Linked DNA regions of Homo sapiens: region 1 is linked to region 2. The links are contacts of gene promoters, found by promoter capture Hi-C in blood cells and fetal thymus (Javierre and others, 2016). All regions are on one chromosome and are shown on one strand. Each heading gives the region's core, a stretch centred on a gene start or on the middle of the fragment in contact. The rest is flanking DNA. Distances are from core to core; before and after follow the strand shown. Region 1 overlaps NEPRO-AS1 (NEPRO antisense RNA 1). Region 2 holds the start of CD200R1L-AS1 (CD200R1L antisense RNA 1).

Region 1 (6,423 bases), core at 2,943-5,442, 240 kb after region 2:
TCCAAAATATGTAGTGGATCAAACACATTAGATGTTTATTCTCACCTGTTTTCCCCATCTTGTTCAACACATGATTATTCAAATTTTAGGTTCCCATCCTGTGACTTTGAAATCCCCTAGGGCCTTGTCATCATCTGCATCCAGCTATAAGAAGGGGGAACAGATAACATAGAGGTAGGACACACCTGCCTCTTACAAGCATTGGCCCAGGAATACACTCATTATATTCACTCACATTCCTTTGGCTACACCTAACTGCAAGGGAGGCCAGGAAACATAGTCTAGTTGCATATCCAGGAAGAAGGAAATAGGTCAGGCATGGTGGCTTATGCCTGTAATCCCAGCACTTTGGGAGGCTAAGGTGGGCGGATCACTTGGGCCAGGAATTCAAGACCAGCCTGGCCAGCATGGTGAAACCCTATCTCTACTAAAAATACGAACATTAGCCGAGCATGGCGGTGCATGCCTGTAATCCTAGCTATTTGGGAGGCTGAGGCACGAGAATCACTTGAGCCCAGGAGGCAGAGGTTGCAGTGAGCCAAGAGCACCATTGCACTCCAGCCTGGGTGACAGAGCGAGACTGTGTCTCAAAAAAAAAAAAAAAAAAAAAGATAAAGAAAAAAGGAAGAAAGAAGAAAAAATAGTGAACAACTAGAAGACTTTGCTACAATCATTTTTTAAAAAACAAATGTTTAATGGCCCAGAGAAGTGCTCGTTGCATGTCTGACTGGCTGGGGCTGGCGTTGCAGGTGGTAAAGGAATTTACCAAGACAGTTATAGGTAAAGAAAGGCAGATTTATTACAGAAAGTATGAAGATACATCGCAAGGGTGCAATGGGCAGCACAGCAGAGAAGGGGCTGTCTGCAAAGAGGCAGGGGCTGGAGGAAAGTTTTATAGGGTTGTGCTGGAAGGGATATGTGTAAAACGAGGTCATACTGCTGGGGCTACGTGCAGAGTGAGGTAGTTGTACCAGCAGTTGTTTGTGGTTAGCTGTCTCAGAACAATTGTTCTCCCCGACATGGGACCCCTTCTCCATTGTTGCTTACTCATCTTAACAGGACTCCACAGTGCTCACATTTTATTAAATGAATAAAGAAGATAATAAAACTGGTTATATATGATGACTCCAAGTTGGGAAAGGGGCAAATAGGGATGTGTACCCAGAGTAAAAAATGATGCTAAGATATTAATAATAGTTATTTCCAGTTAGTAGGAATACAGAAGAGTTTTATTTTCTATTCTTTTAATTTTCTGAATTGTTCAGTGAACATAAATTACCTCTATAAGATGACATTATTTTTTAAATGTTAAAATATCTCAGTGATAAACACAAAGTGGTCATTTAGCAAGGATCATTGTTGACAATCCATCTCCTATCTCAACTCCTAGAACCTCATAGAAACATAGAGAAGAAACACCTGTTGATAGCAATCTATTTTCTGAGGTATTCAGAGGCCAGCATGCAATTTAACACAATCCCTAATTTACAAAAGCTATTTCTAAGTCCATTGTTTGAAGCTGAATGCATTCTCTGACAAAATTAATGTAAAGGATGATGTTAAAGATCCAGGGCCAGCCCACCAAAGCCACTCTACTGCAACCAGACACGATATTCCTACCAGTCATTCCATAGAGACCAACTCTGGATCCCAGAATTGCTACAGAAAAGTGCTTTCCATGGTCAAGGGCAAGATAGCAGGAGCATATCTTTCCTCATCTTGTGTTACCCTCCACCCCAACAAGCCTTGGCAGCCAAAGTGGGAGCTTTTTTTTTCCCCCACTCTAGTGCATGACTTTGAAAGATTGTAATATAGTCCATGGAAAACATTCGGCAGTCTGAAAGACTTCCCTGGGCCCACCTGTCCTCTCATGGTCAACTGGAGAACGGTCCAGAAATCCTTGAGCTCTGGAAAGCTTCCTGGTTAGTCCTTGGGGAATGCAGGTAGCTATATTGGAAGAACCTGCTCAAGTACAGTTCTTGACATCTGGGGAATCCATTAGGGGAAGATCACTTCAAACTCAATAATGAAGTCCCCACATTTCTTGGGCACTTTAGGGAGAGGGAAGTCTTCTCCAGGGGCTTTTCACTGCATGCCAGGCCTGATGACTTCCTTGAAAACGATGGGTATGGTCTTTCCGTCCAGAGTGGGATGTTCACTGTGCAGCCACACAGAGCCTTCCAAATGCTGATCCTGGCAGGATAGATGACATCAGAGCCATTTCTCTTAAAAATACTATGTGGCTTGTCCTTTAAAACAAAGACGATGTCAGCTGGAATGTTTTTAGAGGTTTGGTCTCCTTCCTTGCTTGGGGAAGGTCATTTTGGTCCCTCTTTCCACCGTGTTTTCACTTCAATGGTCCAGATCTTGTCTTGACTAGAACCAGTTTCCTCACCATGTGGAAAGTGGGAGCCGGGACTTCCTCAGCAATGAGCCTTGCCATGGTGGGGGCACGGAGGTGGAAGGGAGCTGCTTCCAGGCCTGGGGTAGGGGCTCCCACCAGGCATGGTCCTGAAGGAGACAGGTGATGGGATGTTACATTAGGATGACTAGGAAGATGCCAGGGACCCCTAGGATGGGGAAGAAATGTTTTCCTCATGTACTTTTCCCCTTGTGGAAGCAGCCATCTTAGAGACTTTGGTTCCTCTCCATCCCAAGTCCTCCATCATCCCACTTCCTTTAGTGTCCTCATCTCCAGTAACCTTCATATCGACCTCACTGCAGGCATGCACTCTCCAGCCATATCCCAAATCTTAGCATCAATCAGAGTTGTTCCTTCTCTGAAATCATGAATTCAGACATTTCCATTTCTGACAATAGTTTCCTATTTTCCAACTTTCTTACTCAAGTTACACCCTATAAATCTGATCTTAAACTGCACTGAATCACCAGTCCCCAGCACCCTTTTCTCTCTCATCAGTACCCCCACCTTCATCTTTATTTGTCCCCAGTCCATTTCTTGCCAGCATTCTCAATTCCCTCGCCCCATTGTACTTCCATGAGATTTGCCAGGCAAATGCCCAACTCTATAATAATTCTACTCTCTGAATGTTCTGGGATTCCAGAAAAAGCAGAACCCTTAGATAAGAACTCTCTCAACTTTCTGACACCAACCCTACAAACTTACTTGTCTCCCACTCATCCTGTCTTCCATTCTTTCACTTACAACAGATAAGGTGACCCTCCCCTCACCCAAGTTAAATCCTCCCATTTGCATCCTGTGTCCCAAATCCTTCTGCCTTCTCATAAGCTTCAAGCAATTAATAAGTCCCCTACTTTCTTACATCAACAATAAATTCTTTCTATTGGGTCTTTCCTATGAGTACTTAAACATTAACAGGTCTCTTCCATCTTGGAAAAAACAAACTCTTTCCACTCAAGGTTTCTCCACTTGTCCTATCTCCCTTTCCTTCCTTTCCTCCTTCCTTTCTCCTTTCAGAAAAGTAGAGAGAGATGATGAATTCCACAGCCAAACTCCTTGAAAGCCTAACTCCTACTTCACCAAATACTCACCCTTCTACCAATTGCAATTTAGTTTCTAAATACTAATATTACAAGATCAGTCAGCATACCAGCAAAAAGCAGAATTCATCCCACATGGTTCAAGGGAAGAAGCTGCTTACAGAGATATAGGCAGGATGAAGGCATCAAAAATGGAATCGTGAGGCACTCCAAGCGCAGTGACAGTAGGAAGCCATTATCATTCCTAGGGCCAAAGAGACAAGAGGAGGAAATAGAACAGTAAGAGTGAGAACCGGGGAGAAGAGGACACCTGGTAGGAATTGATGTCAAGGAGTGGTGGACTTACTGCCTAAGATAAGACACTAAAGCTGTATGGAACTGGGGAAAAATATTCTGCTCTCTCTGTTTCATTCATCCCATCTGTCATTGCTTTCCATTGGCCAAACCCAGCTGAAAGCTAGAGGGCAAGGGAGCCTAAGTGATAAAGTCTACAGAGCTCAGCCTTCAGGGACACAGGGAAGAGGGGAGAATGGTGGATACACAGAATAACCAGAACATTCACCCACAACCTCCTTTTTATAAAAGTCAGTGTTTTGCTTGGTATTGTTGACCACTGCCTCCTTGAAATAATCTTTTCCTGTGGCATGTGTGGCAGCATATTTGGCCACTTTTCCCTCTACAGGATGCTCCTGCTCAGTTTCTTTTGCTGGTTCCTCTTCCTCTGTCCTTTCCTTTGTATTGGTGTTTTTTTGTTTTGGTTTTTTTTGTTTGTTTGTTTGTTTGTTTTACAAACTCCCAAAGCTCCATCTATAAGTTGAAAATTCACAAAGGTATACCTCTATTTCAGATTTCTTTCCTGAACTTTAGACTTCAGGGTATGTAACTAGAGCACATCTCTGTATATCTGATGATCTTGAAGCACCTCATATTCAATGTGTCTTCAGTTGAACTCACCTCCCACTCTCCTCCCTGAAAACTCACACCTCTTCGTGTATCTCACTGAATAACATTACTACCCACTCAGTTATCTAATCAATCACCCAAGCCATTCTTTTCACTGCTGATAGAATGATTTTCCAAAAATGAAAAATATGATGATTTTACTCCTTTGCTTTCACTGGCTTATTAATTCCATGATAAATCTGAACTACTTAACGTGGCTTACAAAGGTTGTGTCAAATACTTCTAGGTGTTCAGCAAGATCCATGTTCTCCTCTTATTCCTGGGTGCACAGCTGAGCTACTTTTTCTAGCCTTTCTTGAACCACATTTGGCCAAATGACTGAGTTCTAGCCAATGGATGCCATTTCCAGACCAGTGCGTTTTAAAAAACATCTGTCCCTCTTTCACACTCTCTATTTCCCCTTCAGCTGTGAGGATGAAGCCCTAGGGGATGGCAAAATCACAAGAAGGAATTATGGCCTGGAGAAAAGCCATTGCACACCAGGAACACCTGCTGGGACCATTAGGTGAACTAGGAATATATTTATTTCAAAAACTGAGTGTAAAGAGGTTAAGTAGCCCAAGGTCACATGGCAAGTATTCAACAGAGCCCAGATTTCAATCCAGATTGCCTTATACCAAAGGCTAGGTTGATATTTGTGGTGTACTGCTCTTCTTATTATACATTAAGGGTTGTATTCTATGGCTTAATTGGCTGTCTACAGCCAGTAAAAGCTTTTTAAGAAAAAGGACCATGTATGCTTGCTAATTATTGACTTTTAGTACCCAGCAGTATATCTGGCATATAATAGGTACACAATAAATATTCATCAAGCCAGGTGTGGTGGCTCACACCTGTAATCCCAGCACTTTGGGAGGCTGAGGTGGGCAGATCACCTGAGGTCAGGAGTTCAAGACCAGCCTGGCCAACATGGTGAAACCCCCGTCTCTACTAAAAATACAAAAATCAGCTGGGCATGGTGTCACGTGCCTGTAATCCCAGCTACTCGGAGGCTGAGGCAAGATAATTGCTTGAACCCAGGAGGCAGAAGTTGCAGTAAGCTGAGATCACAACACTGCACTCCAGCCTGGGCAACAGAGTGAGACTCCGTCTCAAAAAAAAAAAAGAAATTCATCAAAAGCTGTGATCTGAATATTATATCCTCCAAAATCCTTACGTTGAAATCCTAACCTCCAAGGTGATGATATTAGGAGGTGGGCCTTTGGGGAGGTAACTAGGTCACAAAGGTAAGAGCCCTCATGAATGGAATTGGTGCCGTTGTAAGATAGACCCAAGGTAGCTCATTAGCCCCTTTCACCTTTTGGGGACACAGTGAGAAGGCACCAACTATGAAGCAGGAAATGAACCCTGGCACCAACTATGAAGCAGGAAATGAACCCTCCCCAGATACCAAATCTGTGGGCAGCTTGATCTTGGACTTCCCAGCCTCCAGAACTGTACGAAATAAATATTTGTTGCTTATGAGCCACCCAGTTTATGGTATTTTTGTTGTAGCAGCCCGAATGGAGTATGACATGAAATGAGTAGCATTGGTGACTTAAGGAGAATATAGTGACAGGGAGAGCCAATAAAACAGTTATTCCTCCTCTCTTGTTTTACTGTTTTTGGCTTGGTGAGAGAAGAGTATTTTGAGGAAAAAGGCAGAAATCTCATGTGTAAAGGGCAGAGGTAAATCAAGAATTGACAGTATCTGAAATGTTATGAACTCTCACATTTCAAAAGACGCCTGAAAGACAGAAAGTCATTTACATGGCATTTAGGAGCTGTCTATAGCTTCTTTTTTTTTTTTTTTTAATTGATCATTCTTGGGTGTTTCTCGCAGAGGGGGATTTGGCAGGGTCACAGGACAATAGTGGAGGGAATGTCAGCAGATAAACAAGTGAACAAAGGTCTCTGGTTTTCCTAGGCAGAGGACCCTGCGGCCTTTCGCAGTGTTTGTGTCCCTGGGTACTTGAGATTAGGGAGTGGCGATGACTCTTAACGAGCATGCTGCCTTCA
Region 2 (6,350 bases), core at 2,939-5,438:
AAGGAGATGAAATCAGGGAGGGGCACATAGAGGGCTTTAATTGGGTTTGTCAAGTTTTGTTTCTTAAGCTGAGAAGTTGATGAGGTATTTCTCTTTTACTGTTTACATCTTTTTTTAAAAACAACTCTATGGGAAAAAATCTAATTTGATAAAAAAAAATGGGCAAAAGATTTAAATAGGTATTTCTCAAAAGAAGACAAACAAATGGCAAACAGGCATATGAAAATGTGCTCAACAGGCCAGGTGCGGTGGCTCACACCTGTAATCCCAGCACTTTGGAAGGCCTAGGCAAGTGGATCATTTGAGGTCAGGAGTTTGAGACCAGTCTGGCCAACAGGGTAAAACCCTGTCTCTACTAAAATTACAAAATTAGCCAGGTGTGGTGGTGCATGCCTGTAGTCCCAGCTACTCAGGAAGCTGAGGCAGGAGAATCACTTGAGGCGGGGAAGCAGAGGTTGCAGTGAGCTTAGATCCTGCCACTGCACTCCAGCCTGGGCAACAGAGCAAGACTCTGGCTCAAAAAAAAAGAAAAAGAAAAACGAGGAAAAAAGTGCTCAACATTATTGATCATCAGATAAAAGAAAATCAGAACTAAAGCTATAATGAAATACCATCTTATGCAATTAAAATGGCTTATATCCAAAAGAGAAGCAATTACATTTTATAAATTTTTAAAGGTACCCACAGAGACCAACACCCTCTCTCCAAGTTGGCAAAGTGAAGGGCTGCTTGTCAGCTTCTGAATGCATCTCTTCCTTTTGACCATGGCTGTGACTGAGCTCCCAAGAACTTCCTTTTCAGATAGAAGAATGAAGACAATTCTGAAGCCCATTTGGGAAGAATGAGAAACTCTCCCAAATTTTTACCCTGAGCTCCTTTTTCAACAATACTCAGGAACCCACTAGTGTGGATTCCATGCTCTGCCCTCAGTGTGGGAGCTGGTGTGAAAAGGAGACCTAACTTTTAAAGGCAGAGATAGATTTGGGTTTGAATTCTAGCCTTGCCACTTTCTAGCTTCGGCTTCTTCATCTATAATATGGAACTAATAAGACAAACCTACTTCACTGGGTTTTTATGAGGATGGAATTAGTTACTTCCTATAAAATGCCTGGTATACGTAAACACCCATAAACAATGTTTTCATCATTCATACAAGTTAGCAGTCTAGGAAAGTAGTCTGTTATTATTCTCTTTCTTGCTCTTTTTTTCTCTAAGATGTCTGCCATTTTCAAATTTGCCCTGTAACTATATTCTTTCAAATTCCCTTTCCTGAGGTTTATGGTGACATGCATCCTAATTCACTGTTAGACAGTCAATTTGCTAGTTATTTTTAAATGTAGAAAAAAAGAAAAATATTAAAATGTTCTACTTATTCATGGTTCTTACTCCCTTAAAAGCACTAGTGGAGGTCATTAAGACCATTACCTCAGAGTGCTCAGACATTACTAAAACAAATTACTCTGGGTCAGTATAAGGAGAGCCTTAACACTCATTCCAGTAGAGGAGGTTAGGAGGCCCCCTGAGAAGAAGCGAAAGAATGGATCTCTTGTTGGCTCACACATGACATTATTTAGAAATGGTTTGTTTTTCTAATATGACCAGATGGCTCCCAGCCACATATAAAAACACTCCAAGCTACACTGATTCGCTTGACAAGTGTCCTACAAAATGCAGTTAACCTAGACTGAAGGGCATGTGTCTATTTGGGGGTAAACCTTATTCAAGGTTTGTATTGTCTGCTGATGAGAGCTCTTCCTTGAGAATATTAAAATACCAATGTTAGAAGGAAAAGCACTTAGTTGAGCCAGAAGTTGTAGGTTTGCATATTTACTCCACTACTTCCTGGTGAGGTGGCATGAGTAAACTGTTTAGTTTCTAGGCCTCCCTTTCTTCATTTGTGAAGCAGGGATTATAATACTGTAACTCACAGAGTTCTGATAAGATTTAAGGGAATATTATGAATGACTCTGGAATGGAGCCAGATGCCTAGGAAGCACTCAAAGATATTAGGTAAAATATCAGCTGACAGTAGATCAACTTGGACATGTGTCTTCAAATTTTATATCCAAATTTCAAGATGGTAGGGGACATAATGGAAGAGAAAAAAGTTTTAGATTTTCAGCCAAGGAAAAAACGAAATTGAACTTGCTACTGGCTGGGTGGCTCTGAACAAATTTCTCACCTTTTCTGAGTCTTATTTATTTATTTTTTTTGTAGGTACATAGTAGCTGTATATATTTATGAGATACATGAGATGTTTTGATAGAATTCTTGCAATGTGACATAATGAGTCTTATTTTCCTAATGTACAAAATGGGGCATCATAGTATCTTCTCTCTCTACTTTCTAGGATTGTTGAAGGCTAACAAATTTCATCTTTGTGTATCCCCAACCTTCACATTCTGCATGCTTTCTGTCTCTAAAAGTAATTACCATTGTTAAGCATGTATTTGTGTTTTCTCAAATTACTAACTTCTGATGGAATAGATAGTCTTTTAAAAATTCAGTGGAAGAATTCTAGCTGGGCTTTGGAATTCTAGTCTTCTCTAAGAGAGCACTTTATATGTAAAGGCAAACAGCAACTCCACAACAGTACACTAGTAACAGTAATGATTAGGATAATTATTTCTCTGGAGAAACACCACTGTCTTCTGTGACTTTATGCTTGCAAGTTCAATCAGATGAAACAATTCCATAATAGTTTAAATCCCAGAACTACCTTTACTCAGAATCTGAGTAACAGTTTCTGAATACTCTAGAAATCAAATGTTATAGCCACTTGGCTGCATTGTTGGGTAAATCAAAAGATAAGGCCTGTAATAGCCTGAGTTCTTGAAGGGTTCACACTCAGTGAGTTGCGTGGTATTCTAGCACATGGGGTATGCATGGAAATTTACATAATGTGGCTTGGAGGAAAATAATTCTTGTTAGATTTTAGTTTGGCTGAATGGGAAATAGCCAACTTTATTGTCTTATCTCCCTTTAAAAAACAAACAAAAAAAATTTCTTTAATGTTTATGTTATACATGAATACAATCTCACTAAAAAAATAAGTTCTATGGATAAAGTTTATGTCTCCTTAATCACTACTCCCCTTCTTAAAGGTGACTACTATTACCAGTTCACTGTGCATCCTTCCAGAACTCTTTTCTCTGAATTTCTTAGCACATATGTGTGCTATAGAGCTATATAGTTTCACAAGTGTGTATTTGTACATAAATAATACAAATTATTCTATGACTAGCTTTTTACTCTACAGTGTGTATTAAGGGGGAATTCCATGCCAGTTTGCAGATAGCCACCTCATTCTTTGTAACTGTTGTATACCACTCTGTAGCATGAATGTGCTACTTTTTTTTTTTTTTTTTTTTAAGACAAGGTCTCCCTCTGTCACCCAGGCTGGAGTGCAGTGGCGCGACCTAGGCTCACTGCAACCTCCGCCTCCTGAGTTCAAGCAGTTCTTCTGCTTTAGCCTCCCCAGTAGCTAGGATTATAGACACCATGCCACCACAGCCTGGCTAATTTTTGTATTTTTAGTAGAGATGGGTTTCATCATGTTGGTCAGGCTGGAATGTGCTACCTTTTGTTTAACCACCTTCCTACTGAGTTACAAGTGAGTCATTTCAAATATTTTGCTCTTATAGATACTGTTGCAATGAATATATTTGTTCATACCTTCTTAGGTACATGTGTAGATATGAAAAAAGTAATTACTGATCTTAGGATATACACATTAAAAGCTATAACCCTAACAAATTACCTTTCCACATGCCTGTCCCAGTTTATTCCCTCATCAGCAGTGCATCATGGAACCCATTTCCCTGTACTTTCACCAAGATTTGATAGCAAATATTTCATTTTTGCTTAATGAGAACAAAATGTTATCTTATTGTGGCTTTTATTTGTATTTATTAGATTAGTAGAAATATATATTACCTTTTCATGAGTGTATTGCTTATGTGTATTTTTCTTCAATAAACTACCTGTCAATATATACATAAGTCTTCTCTAGACTTTATTCTTTGAATCTATTTGCATTTTCCTGCATAGATGCCACATTTGCTTAATTACTCTAGCTTTTTAATATGCTTTAATATCTTGGGAAGGGGACTTTTTTCCATCTGTATAGACCATTTTACTTGCAAATTACTTACACAAGGAAATATCTAATCTCACATTACACTTGTCACCAAATGATAGACACTAATCTCCATTTCTTAGAAATGAGGAAATAAAACCACAAAATGTACAAAGTCAGATCTAAAACCCCTACCTTTGGGTCCAGACTTTTCTTCTAAAGTTCTGCAGTTATACCCAGATGCCACAGAAACATAGGATCTTAGAGGAGAAGTAACTTAGGTAAGATTATCTAATCTAAACTCCTCCTTTTACAGATGAGTAAATTAAGGTGTGGGAAAGCTAAGTACCTAAAACCTAGCATTAGAACACAGATCTTCTGGTTTTTGGTCAGTTAGGTTTCTATAATGGCAGTATTTCATTAACAAATTCTAGTGGGTTTTTTTCCCTATCACTGTCCTGAAAGAGGAAAAAAATTTAGAACCATTGTCAGACCTTTAGTTTTTTTCAGTTTTTTAATTATGAAATAAAGGGAAATAAATTGTTAAAGTTGAGACTGGGCACATACGAGTTCAAACTCAAGAGTCTTTTATATGTTTATACCAACTCTGTGGGAGAGACAGGGGGAATAAAAGCATTCTCAGTTACAATAATGAATATATTCTGTTTATCCACTGCCCACCTCCTGGATGTCTCAAGCATTTCATGGATGGTGCTGCATCTGTAAGCGAGGATGGACAAATGTGTCCAGAACAAGCAGTTGTAACTATTGTGAGGCCCCATCTGGAACAGAAGGTGATTCAATCTCTTCCTTTGATTGGAATCTTTCATACTTTATTTTTCAGCATTCTGAGCTAGGAAACATGTGAATACTGAATTTCAACAGCTATCTCATTTCACCTGATAGTACTTTTCTTTGCCTAGGCAAAGGAACAGAACAGTTTAACCTGCATCACAAACTTCAAAAGAGTTGTAGCTACTCCTGGAAAGAGAGAGATAGGAGGCTGCCCATGCTTCAACATCCTCTGGATTTTGAGCCAGAATGAAAACAAGAAGAAAACAACACTTGAAGTTCTGACTTAGTCTGGGCCCACAGTCTCAGATCCTTTGAGTTACACAGCAGGAAGGAAAGAGTCCCCTATGGGGTCATGAACCACATCGTCTGATTGAATAATTGGTGCTTATTTCTGGGTCCTCAACTTGGCCATCTAACAGCTTGCATGTGCTCCATTTATAGTCCTCAGGCAAATTCTTTAAGCTTTTGGGTTGCATTTTTCATTTCCATTGGTTATAAATAATAGGTCAGGACAGATGTCTTTAATAGCCTAAGATCTAAAACATATGTTTGTGCAATGAGACCACAGAGGTAGAACTATAGAACCTGAAGCCAATTTTATTTTTAGAAGAGACTTTAGTTGTCTGTTCAACATATTTATTTTAAACGTAATTTTTGTTCATCCAATATGTCATGCTGTTAAGAAACATACCAGATAAGAAGGCCAACCTCCTGCCCTCCAGGAGTACATAATATCATTCCTCAATGCTCGTTCTTCATGCTCAAAGAGTACCAGATTGAAGAACTGGAGGTCCCAAAAAAGGTAATAGGAGTAAGGTGAAGTTGAAGGGGAGCACACTTTCCCTTCAGTCAGTCTCAAGCCAGTGAAAAATCCCTACCAATTTTCTTCAGGCCCTTCAGCAGGAATGTAGAATAGCTGTATGGACCTCTCAACTATACATGATAGCTTTGGTCTAATTTATAAAAATGTTCCTTTGTTCCCTCTGAGACTGCAGTTCTCCTATCTGCACACACACTTTCCTGACTCTGCAGCAGAAACTTAGTTACGAGACCCATTTCTTAGGTCACCCTGTCTTCCTCTTTGGGTGAAGAAGTTTCCTTCTTCTCAGATATTCCTCCAGTGAATTTTATGTCATTCTTCACTAATTTTGCAGACACTTTCCTGCTCCTTCTGGAGATTTCTGGTCCTAGAACAACTCCACTACTATGTCTCCTTCCTCTTCTTCTTCTTCTTCTTCTTCTTCTTCTTTCTTCTTTCTTCTTCTTCTTCTTCTTCTTCTTCTTCTCCTTCTCCTTCTCCTTCTCCTTCTCCTTCTCCTTCTCCTTCTCCTTCTTCTTCTTCTTCTTCTTCTTTTCTTCCTCTTGTTCTTTCTTCCCCTTTTCTACTTTCTACAAAAATAAGATGTAAGAGATAATGATGTTGTGGAACAATCTGAGTTAGGATCTTGTCTCCACCACTTAATATTGGAGTTTCAAT

Evidence for each region. The method cuts DNA at HindIII sites, captures the fragments that hold promoters and counts their contacts. A CHiCAGO score of 5 or more calls a contact.
Region 1: a fragment that was not itself captured here is called in contact with the fragment with the promoter of CD200R1L-AS1 in region 2 in 1 of 17 cell types (total CD8 T cells); the score reaches 5.3 in total CD8 T cells.

The regions. Positions count from the first base shown.
Region 1 is chr3:113,039,443-113,045,865 of GRCh38, forward strand. All of the region lies in intron 1 of NEPRO-AS1 (NEPRO antisense RNA 1), which reads left to right. It also overlaps the pseudogene DNAJB1P2. Among named protein-coding and RNA genes, the nearest start is that of RMP64, 23 kb to the left of the region's middle. The HindIII fragment of the contact is 1,888 bases long and covers 3,249-5,136 here.
Region 2 is chr3:112,798,290-112,804,639 of GRCh38, forward strand. It overlaps CD200R1L-AS1 (CD200R1L antisense RNA 1), which reads left to right and starts at 4,189. Exons shown (of 3, transcript NR_149027.1): 1 at 4,189-4,359. The HindIII fragment of the contact is 7,448 bases long and covers 1-5,333 here.